Linked DNA regions of Homo sapiens: region 2 is linked to region 1. The links are contacts of gene promoters, found by promoter capture Hi-C in blood cells and fetal thymus (Javierre and others, 2016). All regions are on one chromosome and are shown on one strand. Each heading gives the region's core, a stretch centred on a gene start or on the middle of the fragment in contact. The rest is flanking DNA. Distances are from core to core; before and after follow the strand shown.

Region 1 (5,491 bases), core at 2,152-4,651:
TCCATATGTCACCAACTCAAATATTTTCTCTCCACCATCTATTTTATACATCTTTCCAGTTTTGAGTGGCAAGCAAAGAGGATACTAATTCACAGTTTTTTGTTTTGTTTTGTATTTTTAGTAGAGATGGAGTTTCACCATATTGGCCAGGCTGGTCTTGAACTTCTGACCTTGTGATCCACCCACCTCAGCCTCCCAAAGTGTTGGGATTACAGGCGTGAGCCACCGTGCCCTGCCTGATTCACAGTTTTATACATATAATAAGAGCTGCAAATAGTGGTTTGCATTTTCATTACTTCCAGCAAGTAGTGTTTCATTATATGCATTTTACAGTATCTTTAGTTCTCTTGTCAAGCCTTGTAGAGCACTTGAAGTGCTCTTCATTTAATGGTACTCTACTTCTCATAGGTTGAGCAGAACTGAAGGGTAGGGAAAGATTGTTTTGGGAAATCCAGAATTCTTTCCCTAAACCTTTACATTTTTAGAAACTAAAATACCTGGGAGAATGATGAGGAGACATGCTGTAATTAAGGAAGTAATCTGTTGATGGTGTGGCGGTGGCAATGATTAGTAAGAGGTGCTGAGCACAGTAAATACATAACCCAGGAGAACTAGGTGCCCTGTGTTTCAATGAGGAAATTTCATCGGAAAAGTTAGAATTTTATGACAAGCACACATAAACATATGTCCCAATAGTCCCTTCCAGCTATTGCTGTCCACTCACACTTATAACCATTCAGAGCTATCTCCTTGCTATTAATGTCTAACTTTCTTACTGACCTACCAGCAGGGTTTCCCCCACCCAGCTGTGTCCCTTCAGGATCTAAGGAACTATTAAATAAGAAAAAAAATTTTTGTCCATTCCTGTTCCACATCCTGTCAGCATGACCCTTCTCCTTCTCTATGTCCTTCTGAGGCATCCTAATTACTCCACAGAGCTTCACACTGCATGCTGTAGTCCAAAGTACATTGCAGCTCCCCTCCTTCTTTCCTGACACCCAGTTTGTGACCAGTCATGTACTTGGTGGCTGGTCATTCATTAGCTCATACTCATACTCTCTGTTGTTGCTGTTAATCAACCTCAGCAAGCTCTTGATGTTAAGGACTACGACTTCTGTTTCTTGTACTCCAGGCAGTGCTCTATCATATATAGCTGTTTAATTAACGAATGAATTAGTTAACTTTAACTCAATTCCAGAAATTAAATCATATTTGGCAGCTCAAACCTATAAGTTATAGTGCATTTCTTATCAATTTTAAAATAAAGAGTTTATTTCAACCTTTCTTGAGTGCAAGAAAGGTTCAGTTTTATCCAGAAGTAGGAACATAAACTTATTATTTATTTATTTATTTATTTTTTTGAGATAGAGTCTTGCTCTGTCACCCAGGCTGGAGTGCAGTGGCGTGTTATCGGCTCACTGCAACCTCCGCCTCCTGGGTTCAAGCAATTCTCCTGCCTCAGCCTCATGAGTAGCTGGGACTATAGGCATGTGCCACCACGCCTGGCTAACTTTTTGTATTTTTAGTAGAGATGGGGTTTCACCGTGTTAGCCAGGATGGTCTAGATCTCCTGAAGTGTGATCTGCCCACCTTGGCCTCCCAAAGTGCTGGGATTACAGGCATGAGCCACCACGCCCGGCTGGAATATAAACTTATTAAATATCTCTGTAAATCCTTCCCAGTTGGGTAGCTCTGTCCTATGATTTTGCTATCTGGGCAACTGTAGATGATGAATTAGCTGCGATTGATTTTCATCATCAGTCATCAGCCATAGCATCTGCTATACCTCTGTTGACTCCGTCATCTCCTAGGGAGCTTGTACTCAACATTAATGACAACATTAGCCCAGGTGACATGTAATTAAGAAAGCAAACCTTTTTCCAACCAAAAATAATATGAGAGATTCCAAATCCAAACAGAACAGAGCTGTGGATCATTTCATGTTTGTCTTCATATCATTCTCTCCACTCCACTCCACTGACACAGCGTGATGCTTGATTGTCCTCTAAGCCCCTTCCATTGCTGTCATCTGGGATGCTGGCAATGTATTGTGCTGAAAGGGAAGCTTATTAATAAAGTTAGTAACTCGAAGAGTCAGTGCAGGTTATTTGTAGGATGCTCATTATGAGTCTTGAGTCTGACTCAGTCCAGAAAGCAATGGAATATTCCGCATAACCACCTAAAGGACTTCTCTTTCCCCCTTCCCCAGGGTCTGTTTCTCCTGTAAGGGTTCAGAGCTGCCTGGCAGAGGCTGGCTGAAATAGGAGAAATCCTGACTTAAGCTGTTTCAGGAAAGTGATCCAGTCTTTGGAGAATAATCAGGACATAATTAAGTATGAGTAAAAGGCTTAGAGTTAGTCTGTTCTCCTCTGTAATGGGGTGTTCACTAGTGTGACAGTTGTTTTTGTGACTATTGCTTTTACGTACATTTTTGACCAGCACTTGGAACACTACCTCAGGGTAACTTAAATGAAAGTCCATTTTCCAGGATGGAGTAAACTGACAGAAATTTCCATCGTGCATCAAATCTGCTATAAGTTGTTTGCCTTCTGGGTATTTTTGGGCCCTAGTTGTACTCCTGAAGAAATAACCACTGTTGCTCCAAGTAGAAAGTGGTTGAGGAGACAGCTAACAGATACGTCCAGTTCTTATTTTCTATCACAGAGATGTGAAAAAAAAAAAGCCTAAATTATCTTAGAAGGAAAAGCATTCCTCTGTGCTGGATTTCCAGTGCTTCCCAGCTTTGCACTGTTAGCTTATTTTTTCCAATGTCCCTATAATAACAATCCACTCCTTTCTCTGCACTCCTGGCCCCTCGTGATGTTTTATCATGCTCATGCTGAAAGAAAAGGTGTCTGTCCATACTGTATCTCTTCATTTGGCCTCAGGGATTTCCCTTTGATTTGGAAAGAATAATCTTTCAAATTCCGCTATAAACTATACAGGAGAAAGAGAAAAATAAGATAAAGCTCCTGGAATGTGCACTGGTATTGACATTTCGTTCAAATAATGGGCTGAAGGTGAACTATCTTTACTATTGCTCATGTGAATGATCAATTATTATCAATCCAAACTATCAACAGTGCTGCTTATTATTGATTTATACTGCATGGTTTAATTTTGTCTCCATCCTTCCAGACATTAAAACATAGCCAATATTTAGCAGTTCCCGCCATTCACCATGAGCACCTCCACAGCCCCCAACTCCTCTCTCCCAGTTCTGCCCAGGATATTTATGGTGAGTAGCGAGTTATCTCCTCTTTGGCAGTCATCCCTGCTTTCCTGTGTGGAGGAATTGCCCACATTCGCATTTGCAAACAGAGGCTCACTCAAGTGTCACTAAAGGAAAGGAGGTGGAGCCTGAAGAGCTTTAAAAAGCAAAGCTGAGTCATTCCACTTTTCAAAAAGAGAAACTGTTGGGAGAGGAATCGTATCTCCATATTTCTTCTTTCAGCCCCAATCCAAGGGTTGTAGCTGGAACTTTCCATCAGTTCTTCCTTTCTTTTTCCTCTCTAAGCCTTTGCCTTGCTCTGTCACAGTGAAGTCAGCCAGAGCAGGGCTGTTAAACTCTGTGAAATTTGTCATAAGGGTGTCAGGTATTTCTTACTGGCTTCCAAAGAAACATAGATAAAGAAATCTTTCCTGTGGCTTCCCTTGGCAGGCTGCATTCAGAAGGTCTCTCAGTTGAAGAAAGAGCTTGGAGGACAACAGCACAACAGGAGAGTAAAAGATGCCCCAGGGCTGAGGCCTCCGCTCAGGCAGCCGCATCTGGGGTCAATCATACTCACCTTGCCCGGGCCATGCTCCAGCAAAATCAAGCTGTTTTCTTTTGAAAGTTCAAACTCATCAAGATTATGCTGCTCACTCTTATCATTCTGTTGCCAGTAGTTTCAAAATTTAGTTTTGTTAGTCTCTCAGCACCGCAGCACTGGAGCTGTCCTGAAGGTACTCTCGCAGGAAATGGGAATTCTACTTGTGTGGGTAAGTACTCCAATGAAAAGGTGCTCCAGGTCTCCGGGAAACTGCCCCCACATCCCTGTTGGTTCAATCTGGTATACTTGGGCATTTAACAAAGTTTGTCTTTGGGTATGTATAGTTGCTTAATTTTTGTTTTCTGATGCATGTTTATTTTCTTACTGGCCATTAGAGCTAATCTGCTACCAACTATAAAACTTCATAACTCTCAAACTGTACTTCTGTGTATAAGTGAATGAATATGCCTCATTTTAAACTAGCAGAACATTTCATGGAAGCTTCAGCTTTTACTCTGACAAGAGGAGTAATTAACACCTGGCTAATTGCTTGGAAATTAGGGAAACAGATGGTTGATTTTTTGTTTGTCTGTTTGAAACTCTTAAGCCACAAAGAAAAAAATCCTTCCTTCTGATAACTTGTAAGAATTCAGAAGTTCTAAAAATTAGTGAAAAATGGAAAGGGAACTGTGAACAAAGGTAGTTGTGAAAATTAACCTAAATTTCAATTTCAACCTCCTTCACTTTCTCCCCACTCTTACTGTTTCTGAGGCTCTGACACAACTCCGGAGTTTTAGTAACAGGTGCATTGCAACTTTAAGAACTGCCAAATATGATAATGGGTAAATAAGCCACACTGTCCTCTCATATTAAATGAATTTTTTGCCAAGGGGAAATGGGAGCTTGACTGAATGCGAATTACAATCCTGCCAAAGGATATTGCCTGAAAAACATTCTCTCTCTAACTGTTAATTCATTTATTTAATCCTTGGGTGAGCCTCCAACCTGCTGCTTAGACACGGCAGCCGCCTTTGTTGATGAGAGGTTATAGCTGCCCCGACATTCCATTTTTATCAGCTTGCCCTTTTGAGATGGCGTCTGGCTTTTAAAAAGAGGTAGATTGAGGGGGAAAACACAGTACAGTTTCCAGAAGAGACACCTATGGAAGACAGTACACAATAGGCAATAGTTTGAATAAAGAGAGCAGAATGGAGCCAAACTGCCAAAGCTAGGCTGCTGTCCTGGCTCTCCCATTAAGGAAGTTCCCGATGAGGAAATCAGGTGCTTTTGCTCAGAATCTCTGGACTCTGTTCTCAGGTAGCACTCCTTGTAACAGGTGAGCAGAACTCTAGGGTATTTGAAATAAAGACTTAATCCTAGTGATCTCTATGTTCCCAGCACCTAGGACATTCCTGCTTCCACAGTGTGTACTCAGCAAATTCTTGTGTATGAATGAGGCGTCTTTCTCTGATCTGCTAATGACATAGTCCTAGAGAACAGCAACAAAAAGAGGGTGACAAATGACAAAAATGGCCCCATGAACCTCAGACTCAGCTGTTGGAGACAGAAGTAAAACTTCTGTATACAGTTATGTCAAATGGACTGGACTCTCTTTGGGGTGGGAGAATTTTCCGTGGAGTAGTTGGCAAATATCTAGAGTTGGGCACTGTCATTTGCATGGGATGTGAGGGGTGATGGTTGGGCCGATCTATCAGGCAGCCAGAAGCTAGGAAAGAAGA
Region 2 (5,491 bases), core at 1,711-4,210, 620 kb after region 1:
CTGATTTGCTGAGCCTCAATTAATTGGGAGAGGGAAGCAGGAGGTGGAGTAGGGCAGGGAGGGTCACAGAAGGCTTTCTTTTCCAGGGATGTGATATTTAAGGTGAGCAAATTGGTGTGGGGAAGTGACTTCTCTGGATGTTCAAAATAGAAACTATGGCCGGGCGTGGTGGTTCATGCCTGTAAGCCCAGCACTTTGGGAGGCCTAGGTGGGTGGATCACTTGAGGTCAGGAGTTTGAGACCAGCCTGGCCAACATGATGAAACCCCATCTCTACTGAAAATACAAAAATTAGCCGGGCATGGTAGCACACACCTGTAATCCCAGCTACTCGGGAGGCTGAGGCAGGAGACTCGCTTGAACCTGGGAGGCAGAGGCTGCAGTGAGCCAAGATCATGCTACTGCACTCCAGCCTGGGTGATAGAGTGAGACTCTGTCTGAAAAAAACAGAACAAACCCCCCGCCCCAAAACAGAAATTACAGCGTATATGAAAGCCCAAAGTCTTATACACATGATTTACAACACTTATTGAACATTGACCAAGTGGTTGGCACTATTTTAAGCACTTCAGATGCATTTTATTTTATAGTAAATGAGGAATTTGTGGTAAAAGTGATTAAGTAATTTCAAGGTCACACAGTGTAAATAATGGAGGCTTGATGTAAACCCAGGCAGTCTGGTTCCAAGAAACGGGATAGCAGAGAGTGACTGGGAAAAGTGGTGTGAGGTGAAGACGAAGAGGAAGGCAGGAACCAGGTATGCAGACCATGTTAAAGATTTTGAAAATAGTATGCAAATTTAAGGATTTTAAGGAGAGAATTGGCAGGGTCACATTTACATTTTTCAAAGCTCTCCTCTTGCTGCACTGTGGAGAACTGATCACAGATCCTGGGCAGTTGGGGAGGAGTGGAGGCAGGGAGACCAGTTAGGACAATATTGCAATGAGCAGCCCACGTGATAGTTGATGGAAACAATAAGCCTGGGCTAGGTAGGAGTGGCTGTGGGCTGGAGGGCATGGCAGATGTTCCAAAGATTTTATTGAGCTAAAATTCCTAATTAAAGAACAATGTGGAAGGAATTCAATCAGGTGAATTGGCGGAGAACAATCTCCTTTTAGAATATTGTTCTCATCTTGCACCACAGTGATCGTAGCCATATTTATTCAGAAGAGAAAGATCTTTATAGTCTCATTTCATGATGGGTACTCTATAAGGGGGGTAACAGAGCCTGTTTCCTGGATTACAATTCAGGGCTTGGGGAAATAAGTCACACTACAGCACACTCAGGTGTTTCCAAAAATTAAAATTGCCGAAGCACTTGACTTTCCAAGGCATCAGAGAATGATGAACTCTCAGAATTATTAAATTAGCTGCTTCCAAGATGCCAGTTGACACCTGAACTGGAGAAGCATTGAGAAAGCCGTTGTACTCAACTCGTTGAGGCTCATTTCCGGCCTCTCTTCCTGGAAACCTCAGACACCCAGCCTCCCACACTAAGTGACATTCAGAGAAACTGGGTATCCTGCTATAATGCGAGTTCTGAAAATCAATAGGTCACACCACAACAAAGGAAAATTTGACTACTTAGACCAATATGAGGTCCCTTCAGGGAGTGTCTGTATACTCCCTGAACTCTGCAGGTAAGTGTACTCCTTACCTTTATTTTAGAAAGGAAAGATTAGATGATGATGGAGAAAACATTTGTTTTTCACTTTTTCCTCTTCATGATACATGAATTGAAACATAGATCTGACTTGTTTTCAGGTGATAATTCAACTACGAAAATCATAGAATAATCTCTGTGGTAGTTCTGCTAACAACTATAAAGTGTTTCTTTTATAGTTACTGTTTTGTGTTCTAGCAAATTAGATTAACTATTTAATACTGCTGGAGCCTCTGGATATTAAAATTTAAAAAGTATTTCTCTCTTGAGAAATAAACTTACACTGGGAAAATTTCCCAGTAACTGTTACTTCCTCTCATATGTATCCATTAATTTGTTAAGCCAAAGACAGTCAACAATTTAAGCCAAAGACAGTCAACAATTTAAACTAAGGAGTTTTTTTAATTAATGGGGTTGGATTTTTACAAGCTGCTTGTTGGTTATGAATTTCTCTTCACACAAACCAAACAATTTTACTGCCAAGTGAACTAAATATATCATCACGGTATAAAATCAATTTTTGTAACAGTAAATTTTAAAATTTTATTCACCAAGACTTAGAACATAGAACTGTATTCACATTTATACTGTCTTTAATATTTGTCTTCAGTTTCCACCTTCAGATACTATTTTCATTTTATTTATATTCTTAGTTGCATGAATTTTTTTGTGATGGCTTATCATAAAGTTAATATGTTCATTCTATTTTTATTTTTTAAGAAGTCATATATGCATAGGAAAAGAGACTTAGAAAAGAGGTTCTTCTCTGTTGAGAAAGTTTGTTAAAAATCCGTAGTAGCTCCTGAACAAATAAGAAAGAACCATTATAGCAAAAGGATTCTTCTTTGTTTAAAAGAAGAATTTGATCATAATAAATGCCTTCATGCACCCATAAAGGAATTAGCTTTTTTTCCAATCCTAACTTCCATCTACTTTCTGTTCAGATGTGTTCCTGTTTGGTAGACAGTGTGGCCAGTTAAGTTGTACTGTGAGTTCAATGATCTTCTATAAATATTTTCTCACTGTTTAAATAATCCAAGATTAGGGAATTCTTACTGACTAGAACCTTTTTATAATTCAAATGGCTCACCCATGTATAAGTTATTGCTTTAACACCATGTCCTCAACCATCTCTTAGAAATGAGCCAGTTTCACATCTCCATCCCGGGATGTCTCTCTCAGGAAAGCATATGTGCCTTTGATAGTCCACTCCATGTAAACAGGCAGAGGGAATGGGAGTAAGTGTGTCAGCTTGGTGCAATCAAAGTCAGTTTCCTTAGAGAAAATTAGAGTGGCCATATTTCATACTGCTAGAACCTCTTACATGGTTAGATAGTGAAGAACTATGTCTATAAAAATGAATCCTGATACTCCTGAATGTTAGCCAATATGTAGAAAACTCAATCGTTTCATTTATGTAATTTCCATTTCTTCACATTTTATACTCTCAAGTCTGTGATTTTACTCAGCTTAGATTACATTAGATCATGTGATTCTAAAACTATAAAATTGTATAGCCTCAACTTTCTATCATTTTTATCTTATGATACTCTTAAAGACCTCAGAGCAGTATTTTTGTACATGAGATTAGGAGAACAGCTTCTGCCCTTTTGAGGCCTGGTGTAGTCCCAGAGGCCATGTTTTAGAGAGGATAGTCAAAATAGGAAACCTTAACTGTGGGCCTAGGTCATCCAGACGCTGCCTGCTCTGTTGTTTCAGTCAGATTGGCATTGGGGAAAGAAGAGGAAGCATAAAATGTGAGTTTACATGGCAGCACCAATTCAGCAGACCAGTGCAAGTGAGGTATATAGGTAAGATGTGGCATCTTAGGAATGTTCTTTGTCGGTCTTCTGAGAAGCTGCAAGGGCTCTTAGTTTGGTGTCCCTAGAAGCAGACCCCGAAATGATCATGTGTGTGAAAGTGACTTGTTAGAAAGTGTTTCCAGGAAAGATCAGTGGGGGAGCAGGCAGTGGGATAGAGAAGGAAAGGAAGCCCAGCAAAGGTGCTGTATGAAGCAGGTCCTGAAGAGAGTAACTTTGACTTAGTCCTGCAGGAAAGTCCTGGAGCCAGTGCAGATCATACTTCAGAGTGCTCCTGATGGATGGGGCAGGAAGCATTCTCACACCTGTCACTCACTGTTAAGGGCCACATCCAGAAGGACGTAAATTCCCAGGAACTTCTGGCTTTCCTTGCTCAGGTAGCTGGAAGGCAGTCCTCTGTCAGAGAGACCCAGGTATTGATTGTAGGCAGGGAAAGCACACTGGTATCCAAGGTGTACAAAAATGACAAAGGGGGCCGGGCACAGTGGCTTATGCCTGTAATCCCAGCACTTTGGGAGGCCGAGGCAGGTGGATCACCTGAGGTCAGGAGTTCGAGACCAACCTGGCCAACATAGTGAAACCCCGTCTCTACTAAAAATACAAAAAAATTGGTTGGGTGTGGTGGCAGGTGCCTGTAATCCCAGCTACTTGGGAGGCTTAGGCAGGAGAATCACTTGAACCTGGTAGGCGGAGGTTGCAGTGAGCCGAGTCCGTGCCATTGCACTCCAGCCTGGGCAACAAGAATGAAACTCCGTCTAAAAAGAAAAAAAAAGAGAGAAAGGGGTCTAAGGAGATAAGGAGGAAGCACTGACAGTGTCCACTATAAGGCCCAAGAAGCAATTTATGTGTTGGTTTTATGAAACGTATAGCCAAAAACATTCCACTGCAGTAAAATGCTCCAAAGGAGCTGATTTTAAAAAAACTCAATCCTGTAAAACACTTCAATAGTTATAAAACAAGGGATTACTTCTTTCAGGTATATAGCAAAAATATATTCTCCTTGAATGACATACATTTTGTTATATCTTGAAAAGGTGAAATGTTAACCCTAATTCTCTGTTAGGGAATTGAATGTTGACAGATAAACCAACTTTGAGTTGAAACCTAAACCAGCCAATGGTACGTAGATTCACCTTCTCTCCAGATCTGCATTTTCTGATATGAGATGATATAAGAACAAACCAAAAAAAATGAGATTTCAAGACAAAACTGTTAAGTGTATATATCAAAATACAAAGTTAACTCCCACCTACCCACTCTGCAGGAAAATACTAAGTAGCTAAAGAGAAGCACTGAAAACTCCTGAAACATGCTTACCTGATGATTCTTCCCTTGAGCACTTCAGTTCTAGTTCTAAATAGGGGATATTTAGGGGAGGGTATGAGAGGCTTTAGGGGATGATGGTGGTGGTAGACTTTCAGCATAATTTCTAAAATGTGTTATTTCCTTCACAGAGTTTACTATTTGTCTTCTAATTTCTAAAAATGTTTTGTGTTCCTTGATGGAAATGGTAGCATATTAGACTGTGTGCAAGTATGTGTGTGAATGTTCAATATTATAATAAGATGTATTATATTTGTGTAATTTATGCAATATCTTTATTCTAAAATGCCAAAGCATGTTATTGAAATAATCTTTTTCATGCTTAGCTAATTTTTGATGCAATTTCTAAATTTTATAGATTTATAGAAATTGAGAACAGTTACACAGCTTATCTTCATCACTAAAATGTTGTATTAACTACATTAATTGTGTAGTATGGACTAGATAATCATTTAAAAGAAAAATATACTTGTCTATTGCTTTTTAGTGATTTTTACTCTTGAAATTTTATCTTTTAGTAATAAAAGTTAAATTTTTCTTTTTAAAAAAATTTTAGTTATACATGGAATATCCCAGTTAAATGGACTGAAGATAATATAACAAGCAGTGTGTTATTTAATAGGTCAGAAAAAGAAGGTAAATATTATTAATTGATTTATTTCTTCTTTGAATTGATGTACCACATT

The links. Contacts are between HindIII fragments. The CHiCAGO score rates a contact against its expected background, and 5 or more counts as called.
Region 2: a contact is called between a fragment that was not itself captured here and the fragment with the promoter of EGF in region 1, in 1 of 17 cell types (erythroblasts). The highest score is 5.4, in erythroblasts.

Annotation. Positions count from the first base shown.
Region 1 is chr4:109,909,482-109,914,972 of GRCh38, forward strand. It overlaps EGF (epidermal growth factor), which reads left to right and starts at 3,402. Exons shown (of 24, transcript NM_001963.6): 1 at 3,402-3,981. The coding sequence starts at 3,855. The HindIII fragment of the contact is 2,188 bases long and covers 2,064-4,251 here.
Region 2 is chr4:110,525,837-110,531,327 of GRCh38, forward strand. ENPEP (glutamyl aminopeptidase) reads left to right here. Exons shown (of 20, transcript NM_001977.4): 11 at 5,362-5,441. Among named protein-coding and RNA genes, the nearest start is that of ENPEP, 52 kb to the left of the region's middle. The HindIII fragment of the contact is 6,028 bases long and covers 1-5,491 here.